Regions from separate parts of the Homo sapiens genome. Here region 2 is linked to region 1. The links are contacts of gene promoters, found by promoter capture Hi-C in human tissues and cell types (Jung and others, 2019). All regions are on one chromosome and are shown on one strand. Each heading gives the region's core, a stretch centred on a gene start or on the middle of the fragment in contact. The rest is flanking DNA. Distances are from core to core; before and after follow the strand shown. Region 1 holds the start of OTOG (otogelin). Region 2 overlaps ABCC8 (ATP binding cassette subfamily C member 8).

What was found. Contacts are between HindIII fragments. The study calls those that stand out against the background at their distance.
Region 2: a fragment that was not itself captured here is called in contact with the fragment with the promoter of OTOG in region 1 in 2 of the 25 tissues and cell types used here (IMR-90 fibroblasts and thymus).

What each region holds. Positions count from the first base shown.
Region 1 is chr11:17,545,825-17,551,442 of GRCh38, reverse strand. It overlaps OTOG (otogelin), which reads right to left and starts at 4,184. Exons shown (of 56, transcript NM_001292063.2): 1 at 3,977-4,184; 2 at 3,456-3,516; 3 at 3,231-3,291. The coding sequence starts at 4,070. The HindIII fragment of the contact is 5,491 bases long and covers 1,342-5,618 here.
Region 2 is chr11:17,419,457-17,424,627 of GRCh38, reverse strand. The region is part of intron 16 of ABCC8 (ATP binding cassette subfamily C member 8); the gene reads left to right. Among named protein-coding and RNA genes, the nearest start is that of KCNJ11, 33 kb to the right of the region's middle. The HindIII fragment of the contact is 4,539 bases long and covers 1,034-5,171 here.

The sequences.
Region 1 (5,618 bases), core at 2,935-5,434:
CTGCCCTGATACCTCAGGTCTAAGGAGGAGACAGGCCAAGTGTGTGGCTTAGAAACCCTATTTTCCAGACAGAACTCCCAGAGCATGGTCTCTCCAGACATAAACCGCCTGAAATCAGGACTATATAACAACAGGGGTGTTCAGTCACCACAGGACTAGATGACTTATACACCAGCCCTCTCAGAACTCCAGTCCGAGACGTCTAATGTCACCTGGAACCGGCATCCTGGGCACAGTTGGCTCCTCCTCCCTTAGAGGTTCAGCCTCCTCATTTGTACAATGTCCCCAGAACCCTGTGCCAAGCATTGTGCTGGATGCAGTGAACAGGGCAGAGTCCCTGCCCTCTTGGAGCTTATGTGCTTGTTCATAGGGCCAACAAGCCACAAACTGCACTGTGGGTATTTACCTCACATGTCAGCCTCCCTCATTGTCATCCAGCAAAGGACTTGAACATAGGAAATATTCAGGCCCTTGGTCCCTGGAGCCAACCCCAGCTCTTGGCCCTGCCCTGGCAGGCACAGCCTGGCCACCTTGTCCCTTACGCTCACACCTTTCATCTTCATGGTCTTCCTGACATCTTAGCCAGATTTTGGTGTCCTCACCTACTTTGGCCCCTGGTTCCTGGGTTCTCCCGAGCAATCCTTACCCAGTCGACCCAGCCCCAGCCCCAGGAGTCAGGTTTCCCACCCGGGTACTAATCTATCTCATGGGGCCCTCAGAGACCACAGGAAATAGGAGAGGGCAGGGTCACAGGAAACAACTCGCATCCTTTAGCCACCAGAGAGCTGTAATTAAACTCAGTCTTCGTGTCCTCACTCTTCACTCCCACTTCAGATGTGGCCTCTGAGATAAATGAGTCATGAGGATGAGACAACCTGTGATGCAAAGAGTCAAAGCCATTTTCTAAAGGATTTCTTAAATCTTGTCCAAATGATTAGTCTTCAGGGGCTAATCAATCAGGCGCTCTTAATCATTTTTATGCCACGAACCCCTTAGATAATTTAGTGACCCTATGTGGACACCTTCTCAGAATAATGTTTTTAAAAACATAAAATAAAGGATAAGGTTACAAAGGAAATCACTTATATCACAATATCATTTTATGAAAATATTTTATAAAAATGTGTAATTTAGTAATATTTGTGCTTCTTTAATAACTCAATAAATAAAAGATCTAGCAGTGGGCCTTATCACTGCCAAAATTTTGAAGTAGTGATGAACATAAATGATATCTTGAGACAGCAACATCTATAAGTGGTAGGAAAATATCTGTCATGTCTATTGGTGACAGTCAAAAACACTGCAAATACTCTTGTGGTTTGTAGACTATAATAATAATTGAAAAGGATGCTGAATTTCAGTTGGATTGAGGTTTCTGTAAATAACAATGTGTTTTTATTTTCCCCCATCCATGGACCCCTGTCTACAACAATTCTCTAGAAAATGGTTGAGCTCTGTAGAAGCGGGACAGCATTGAAATGAAGATTGGTTGCCTACTGGTCTGGGGCACACCCCCACTTCATGAAGAGGGCATTCCAAACAGGAGCCCTTGAAGTATCCCTGGTACATGAGCCTCAGTCCCCCACCCCCCAACTCCTGTCACCTTAGAGGGAGGCCATTCTAATTCCTCGTTGCTCTGAGGAGCAGCGTGAGAAACCTCCCCAGGTTGCCTGGTCCACTCACTTATGACCCTTCCCCAAGGAAAAGGCGGGATGCCTACCCTGGAAACCAGCACGGGAGGATACCCACAGGGAAATGAAGTGTTTGGAGAAGGGTCATCTCCCCCACTAAAACATGGGGATTCCTGAAGTCCTGTATGCACGGCCTGGCTCTGCCAGTAGACTTTGCTCCACCTGCTCATTGCAGGGCCCCCACAAGTCATCCACCCACCTCAATTTCCCTACCTACAAAAAAATGACTCCAATACCTTCCAACTCAAGCAGTATTTGACTGTGATTCTAAATCTTAGGGCCTGGAAGTGTGGGCAAAGAAGAAGTAAAAGATCCAGGAAATCCACATCAGAGAAGAAGCACGCCCACACCATCCCCCCTCACTCCACCTTGGGGTCTTCATGTCTATTTCCAAAGGGCAGGAGTTGGGACTCATTGCTGTCATAAACGATTCTCCCCAATCTGCTGGCTCAAGGGGCTCCCCAGAGCTGACCGCTGGGGCTGGGGCAGGGGCACTTGAGCTGAGGCTCAGCTGCTTTGGGGGACCTAGCTGCAGGTGGGTGGAACTTATAGCTCATCTGTAGTTATAGAAAGAGGGAGACAAATGCGGGCCAGGATTAGAAAGTAGACCTGAGTCACCTGATCCAGAGACCAAAGAAGTTTGGCAAAGGGAGAAAACAAAACTGCCACCTCTCCCACAAACACAGAGGACCGTGGGAAGATGGGCAGTGGAATGGTCAAGACTCAAAGGATAGAGGCCGGGCTCAGTGGCTCATGCCTAATCCCAGCACTTTGGGAGGCTGACACAGAAGGATCACTTGAGGCCAGGAGTTCAAGACCAGCCTGGGCAACATAGTGAGACTCTGTCTCTACCAAAAAAATTGAAATTCAACCAGGCATGGTGGCACACACCTATAGTCCTAGCTACTCAGGTAACGGAGGCACCAGGATCACTTGAGCCCAGGAAGTTGAGGCTGCAGTGAACTATGATTATGCGACTGCACTCCAGCCTGTGTCACAGAGCAAGACCCCGACTCAAAAAAAGAAAAAAAAAGGCTCAAAGGATGAGTTCAGGGCTCTGCTTCTCAACCAAACCTTCCTTGCAACTTCCACCAGGTGGCCTAGTTTTTGTCTTGCCTGCATTCTTGAGGCTCCGCTCAGGGTATGGAGAGGAGCCTCTGACAGGGTTGAGGGCCTTCGCAGGCCAGTCAGGGAAAAGAGAACTCCATTCTTCTAAACGTCCATCTTTCTACTTTTACCTGCCAGAAGGGAGAGCTCAGCTCTCTCCTGAAAGAGCCCTGGTGCCCACCTCTCCTAAAAAAAAAAAAAAAAAAAAAAAAAAAAAAAAAAAAAAGAGTGGACTATAGACCCCCAAGAGATTAAAAAGAATAGAAGGGTTTTATGAACTTGCACACCTCAGACACATACCAGGAATCTGCTTGTTCCTTTCTGAACAACTCCAGAGACCCCTCCTGTAACCTACAGAGCTCCCTGCCAGCCTCAGATCCAGATAGACATGAGCTCCTGCTCAATGAAGCCCCCTCCCAAGACCTCCCTTACCTGGCCTCCCACGACTGTAGCCTTGTCCCCCATGGCAAGGGTCGCCTCCTGGTGGCTGCTGCTGGAGGAAACACGAGTCTGGCATGGATGGGGGGCTAGGATGGGTTATGCCTCCCCGCAGTCCCCTGGCCTATCCCACCCTAAGTGCTAAAGCCCTGGGGTCGCTGATGCCAGAAATACGGATGGGAGCTGTGGGTGGGGCCGCCACAGCTCACACCTACTCACCTGGGTTGCCCGGCTGGCTCTGGCTGTGGCTCTGCACTGCCCCACAGAACGGGTGCTGCGGCTGGGGAGGGGGATTATTCTCCACTCAAATTGTGCTTGTCTTTACTGGGGCCTCCCACCACCTGGCCCCCACTGCTAGAAAGCCTCTCCCACGCCACTGAGCATTCCCCCATTCTCCCTCCCTGCAGCCTTCTCAAATCCTTTCTCTCCCTTCCTGATGACCCTTCTCCAGCCAGGATCTCCCTGTTTACTCTCAGTCTTTGGCCCCCAGCTCTCTCTAGTTCCCCACCTCGGGTCTCTTCCACCCAGCCTAACTTTGGACTCTTTCCCCCGCGGTCATAGGCCTGCCTCTGTTGGCTTCGGGGTCCCTCCTCCCCTGACTGCTCCTCCTGGGTGTCCCTCTGCTCTCCCTCAAACCTCTCTTTCCTCCCTCTCTCCAACCTGCGCGGGCCCATTCCTCATTCCTTTAACGTTTCTCATTCCTCGAGCCCCCGACCTCCCTGAGTCCACAACCCTCTCACCGAGGCGCTGCACCCGCAGGGACTCGGCTGCCTGCTCACCCCAGGGCAGCCAGACACAAAGCAGCCAGCAGAGCGCAGACGCCAGGACTCCCATAGGGACACGAGGGGACCGGAGGACTTGAGCGCAGGGCCAGCCTCCCGAGGTGCCTCCCCGGGCTAAGGCAGGGTCACACCTCCACTCCGCAGCCGAGGTCCCTCTTGTTCTCATGCCCCAGGGCTCCCTCAGCCCCTCCTCCCAGGCTCTCAGCTCCTCCCCGAACTAGAGTGACAGGAGTACCCAGCTTATTACCATAATTTAGGCGCCTGTCCATAGCCTAGCCTCTGCTTTTCTTGGCCTGTGGCCACACCTCCCCAGGGGAGGCTGGATTCAGATTACTCAGCCCTAAATTGTCTAGGGAAGCATAGAGGCAGCCTATGCAACCTCCAGCTCCCCTTACCTGGGTCCTGGAAGCCCAATACCAGAGACGCAAGATGCAGGTATGAGTCTGGCCCTATCCTCTCCTTTTACAGAGGGCCATGCTGAGGCCCTGGGACATGCCACTCAGGGATCAGTGGTCAATAACAGAGCCTGCAGAGTCCTAGCCTATGTTCTCACCATGCCCCACCTCAGCTTCCACCTGGGTCTCCACATCCGTATCCTATGACCAGTTTTGAGCACCTCTAGGGAATGGATCATGCCTTAGTCCTCTGAATGCCCAGCACCAGCTCCTGCCCGAGCTCAGGAAATGACGATTGAATAATAAAAGTGTTTCATACTCCTATGTTATTGCCACCATCAAGGCCAAACTTTGACAAAACAACTTTATATGTGTGAACGAGGTCCACTGTCTGCCCAGGAGGAATTTTAAAATGGCAAAAACATGGGACTGAGCACCTGGGGAATCTGTACATCATTCACTTCGTCATCACTTAGGGAACACCAACTAGATGCTAGGTCTTACAGAGGATGATGATGATGGTGGTGGTGGTGGTCGTGGTGGTATTGGCCCCAGTAGACTTCTAGGCAAGGGTATAGATTTGAGATGCATTCATTCATTCATTCATTCATTCATTCACTCAACAAATTTGTTTGGCATTGATTCCATGCCATGCACTGTTCTAGGCATATAGTGGTAAATAAAGCAAACACAGCTATCTTCACACAGGAGGAAGCTGGGGGCACAGATAGGAAGATGAAGAGGAAAGAGCTAAGGATGGAGCCTTAAGGAATGCTGGTTAAGGAACAGGCAAAGACTGATTGTCTCCAAGGAAGCTTGAAACAAAAATTCATGAGAGAGGAGAACCAGGTCTCAATGCTATTCTCAAAACAAAGCAGGGGGCATTTTAAGGTGGAGGGAGTCTGTGGGGGTAATGGCCAATGTAAAATAAGGATTGGTGTGGCAGGTGAACAGCATTCCCCTGGATAAGGACATTCATTCACCTCTGCCAGGATTCTAAATACAAAATAAACAGCCATATGACATTCTTTTCCAATGTAGAGAATCAATGAAGTAAGTCGGAGGGGAATGCATTTTGTGTGGCCTTTTCTGGACCATTCAAAAATCCCACAAGTCTTTCCATTTTATCGCTGACTTAATAGTTAATGCTAAGGTGAGAAAACAGATCATATTTTAAGGTTCTTCTCCAAGAGGGATTTACATCT
Region 2 (5,171 bases), core at 2,054-4,553, 130 kb after region 1:
CAAAACCCACTCTGAACCTGGTCCCTTTGCCCTGCTTTCTTCTCCTCCCCCACCCTCATGCCCTCATGTGGCATCGTGCCTGCCTCAGGAGCTCTCCTTGTCCTATGTAGATGAAGCAGGCATGATTGGCAGGGGTCTGCTCTGCCCTGCCTCAGTCCCCACCTCTTCTCCAAGCTGTGCCAACCCTCCGGGTCTGACTGCTGCCCCTCTCTCTTAGGAAACCTCTGCCCCAGCCCAGGGAACACAAGGAGCCTCTCCAAGGCAGAGGACCCTAAGCACTTCTTTTTTTTATTATTTTTTATTTTATTTTAGGTTCTGAGATACATGTGCAGAGTGTGCAGGTTTGTTACATAGCTATACATGTGCCATGGTGCTTTGCTGCACCTATCAACCTGTCATCTTTTTAAGCCCCACATGTATTAGGTATTTGTCCTAATGCTCTCCCTCCTCTTGCCTCCCACCCCCCGACAGGCTCGGTATGTGATGTTCCCCTCCCTGTGTCCACGTGTTCTCATTGTTCAACTCCCACTTATAGTGAGCACATGTGGTGGTTGGTTTTCTGTTCCTGCCTAAGCACTTATTATAGGCCAGGCACTGTGCAGGCACCTCATCATCTCAGTCAGTCTGCACCGAACTCTGTGCAGTAGATATTATTATATCCTCATTTATCAGATTAGGAAACTGAGGTGAAGCAAGTTGTCCAAGGCCACCCAGCTGTTAAATGGCAGAAGTGGGATTTGCACCTAGGTGCTCAAGTGCATTGGTTTGCCACCATGTGCTCAAAGAGAAGGGGCACAAGAGCCTCATGAAGAAGGCATAGCTAGCCTGACAGTCCAAAGGCCAGCAGCCGCTGTGGCCATGACTCACACACACCTGCCTCCTCCCAGAACTGCCACGTGGGTCCTCACAGCTCTGTCCTTATCAACACTTACTCTCCTTTACAGGTAGCCTAGGCCCCAGCTCCCAGCTCTGTTCGAGGCTCGCAGAGGGGCGGTAGTGAAGGGGTCTCATTTCTCCAGGATCCTCTTTGCTCTCTCGCCCGGTCCTGGTCCAGCTTCCCTTTCAAGCATAGTGAAGTGCATTTGTTAGCTTGCAGCCAACCCTGGGAAATCATGAGAATTTGTTCCCAAGTCAACTCATTCTCCAGCGTCCACAGTGACGTATTCACTCACCCAGTTGAGCGCCTAGTGTATACTAGACCCTGTGACAGCAACAGGAGTGCAAAGGTGACTAAGACGTGGCCCCTGCTTTTTTTTTTTTTTTTTTTTTTTGAGACGGAGTCTCGCCCTGTTGCCCAGGCTGGAGTGCAGTGGTGCGATCTCAGCTCCTCACAAGCTCTGCCTCCTAGGTTCAAGCGATTCTCCTGCTTCAGCCTCCCAAGTAGCTGGGACTACAGGTGTACACCACCATGCCGGCTAATTTTTTGTATTTTTAGTAGAGACGGGGTTTCACTATGTTGGCCAGGGTAATCTCGAACTCCTGACCTCATGATCCGCCCGCCTCAGCCTCCCAAAGTGCTGGGATTACAGGCATGAGCCACCACCCCTGGCCGGCCCCGCTTTTAAGAGAGGGGAGAGAAGACCTGGGCCTTAGAAGAGCTCAGAGGAACCACAATTGACTCTGCAGTCAAGGAGAGGAGGCTCACTGCGGATGTGGTATTTGAGCCTTGAAGGATGAGTGTGGTTTCATCAAGTAGAAAAGGCAGGGATGGGAAAGGGAGGTGGTCCAGGCAGGGGTGATGGTGTGGGCAAAGCCTTGCTGATATTAAAGAACATAGTTCTGTGCACCTGGAACACTGGATGCATGGGGTGCATTATGAAAGATGGGACTGAAGAAGTGAACTTGGCTTAGATCCCATGTAGTAGGTCTGAGAAGTAAGATTTAACCCAAAGGTTGCAAAAGAACCATGCTTGTGATAAAGGATGATGGATTGGGGAAACAGAGAAAAAGACAGACAGACTGTAGGAAGGGAGGTATTAGCAAATAATCATAACACAGTGTGAGGTGTGCATTAATATTCACTCATTCCAAGTATTGATCAAGAAGAGAGGTAGGTACTGGGTTAGGAAACAGCTTGGGCAAATGCATGGGGAAATGAGAGATGTCAAGATGCATTCTAATGGCAGCCTCTTGAAGATCTTAAGTTGTTTTTGGTTCACTCATTTCGCAAATGAATTCATTTAGCAAAAGCACTATGGATACAGTGCTTACCTCTAGGAAGTAAGTTTTAGCCCAAATGCTGCAGAAGGATCATGCTTATGACAAAGGATGATGGACTGGGGAGAGAGAAAAAGAAAAGACAGACAGACTCCAGGAAGGAAGGTCAGTCTGCAGCTCCTTATAGTGGCTAGGAGAAGGAGTCTAGGCAGATACGACTCAATTAGCTTCATCTGCTGTTTGTCTCTCAAAATCTAGACATGTGCACTGCTCTGGCTGGCCCACCTATCCTGGGCATTGAGTTAAGTGTGGGGGCTGTGTGTTGAGAGTCCCCCTCCATTACTGGCAGGAACTCCACACCTCAGACATTGAGCCCCAGGTCTGCAGGGAGAAGACGTGCTTGCAAAGTGAGCTAAAAGCAAAACAGCCTCTGACCTGGCAAGCATTCCCAAGTCTGCACGCCTGCAGCCAGAGGAGAGGGTGATGCCAGGCTGCTGCTCAGATGCTTTTCAGCCATACCCAGGCCAAGACCTGGTGACCAGGCAGCCAGAAGGAGTTCCAGGAGGCACAAGGCAGGAAGTTGGGGGATTAGGAGGTGTAGAATGGAGAATGCTCTGGGGAGATGGGTGCTTTGTTGGTGCAACTATTCGTTTATTCCTCCAGTGACCACGTGAGCAGTATGGCTGCACACACAGGCTCTGCAGCCAAGCTGCCTGGGTTCACATTTGGTCTCTGTGCTTTGGAAAATTTCATAAGCTTTCTCTACCAGTTTCCCTTATTACCCATGAGATTGATGTGAGGATTAACCTAGCATGTAGTAAATATCCTATAAATATTATTATTCAATAGTGTACTTCTTTGCCAGGAACAAAATTCACCTGTTCCTCTTTAAATGTCCTCCAGTCTGTCTCCTGGGAAAGATTCTTGTGAGCTCCCTGGGGACAGGGACCATATTTTGTTTGTCTCACTGTATCCGTAGTGCTTTTTGCTAAACGAATTCACTTGCTAAATGAATGAACCAGGAACAACTTAAGACCTTCAAGAGGCTGCCATTATAATGCATCTTGACATCTCTCTCCTTTCCACATGCCTTTGTCCGAGCTGTTTCCTAACCCAGTATTTCACTACCCCTCTTCTCCATCAATATTTGGAATGAGCAAATACCGTTAGTGCATACCTCACATGGTATTATAATTATTTGCTAATGCGTCTGTCTCCTCCATGACTCTGAGCTCCTTGAGGGATTATTCCATGTTGTACCCCAGGTGCCCCATGCAGATGTGTATTTTGTGCACTGTTCTGTGTAGGCTACAAAGGAAAAGGCCTAGCACCTGCCCTTGGGGAGCTCACCCACCCAGGATGGACAGAGGTGTGCAGACAGAGCTGCAGGGTGGGCACAAAGGGTCCATCTGCTGAAGTCCTGCAGATGCAGCCCCGAGCTTGTCCCTCACGTCAGCAGCCTGGCTCCTGGTCTCAGAGAGAACTGTGTGGTTCCCAAGCATTCACTTTAGGAAGAATCACTTGCCCCTCCCTGGCTCTCTGCTTCAAGGAACTGTGACAACCTTGGGATTTGCAAACTCTCTCTTTAATCCTTAAGAGGAAAATGTTTTGGTAAAAAGTCAAGATTAGCAGATACACTCGGGTGAAATTCTTTCCCTGGAAATAAAGAATAGAGCCATTAATATCCACAGTAGAGTGACTTTAAATGCCCCCGGGGGGTCAGCAGGAACCAGGGCCCTGAGGAAAGGATCAGCGTGGGGAAGAGGCTCCCACTTCCCTGTGAGGAGCTGCACATGCAGTCTCACTGGAGCTCCCTGCTGCAATGCTGTTGCCTGTGGTGGTTGGTGTGGATGCTGCCTGCCAAGAGCCCTGATTCCCCAGGAAGAGAGAAAAAGGCTTCTCTCAGGACGGCCCTGGTCGCATCTGCCTGTACAATTCCTGGAGCCTTTGGGGAGCTGAAGTCAGGGGCTCAAGTGCCCCTGGGTTTCCTGGAGGAGGCAGGTGTGGTGAGACAGCTGACAGACAGGAGAAGGGATGCTCTGAGGAAGTGACTGTCCAGCCATGGGAACCAGATGGCCCCTGGCTGTAGTCCTGATGCTGCCACTTGCTAGCTCTGTGACCTTGAGCAGGTTACTTCACCTCTCTGAGACAGACTCACTGTCTGGACAATGAGTAAAACCCTACCTTTCCTGTCTCAGAGATTTGGCAATGGGACCCAATGACATCAATTGGAAAGGATGCTGTGGGTGAAAGGTAACCTTTCAGGACAGCGACAAGCCTGTCTGGGCAGGATGAATGGGCTGTGGAGCCCTGTATATCCTAGCTCACTCTTTGAACCTCAGTTTCCACTTCTTCCCTTTTTATTTATTGCCGGGGTCTTAAATGAGTGTTGGGGGTATCTGATTCTCCCTCTGCCTGTACTTTTGGGGCCAAGCACTGAGCTGAAAAGACAATTCCTCCTAGTTCTCCAAGCCTACAACCTGCCCCCTAACCAGCTGTGAGCTGTAATACATTCTCCAGTGTCACTGTGAGGTTTGTGCCTTCACCCCCATTTTATAGATCAGGAAACAGAGGCTCCTCCAAGTAAAGGAGCTTGCCTCAGATTTCACAGCCAATGAGTGGAAAAGCCTCTGGGATTCAAATGTCAGAGCCCATATTTTTCCTACTTCTCGCACCTGTTATCATATGCTGCCTCTTCCTTTAACCTGCAGTTCCCTCCCTTCACCTCCACCGTCTCAATCCTTCCCACTCTTTAAGGTTCAGTTCAGCTATGACTTCTTCTATGAGGCTCTACTCATTTTCTCAGATTTCTTCCTCCTCCAAATTTCTTGTAAAAATTATGTTTTTTCTCTGATTCTAAAAGAATGCACATTACATTAGAAAAGATACACAAGCATACAGAAGATAAAAACCACCTAATATCCCATCACCCAGAAGCTTCCAGTTTTTCTTTATGCATTTGCATATGCATTTGTGTTTACTTTTCCCCAAAAGTTCTCCGATACTTTGTCCTA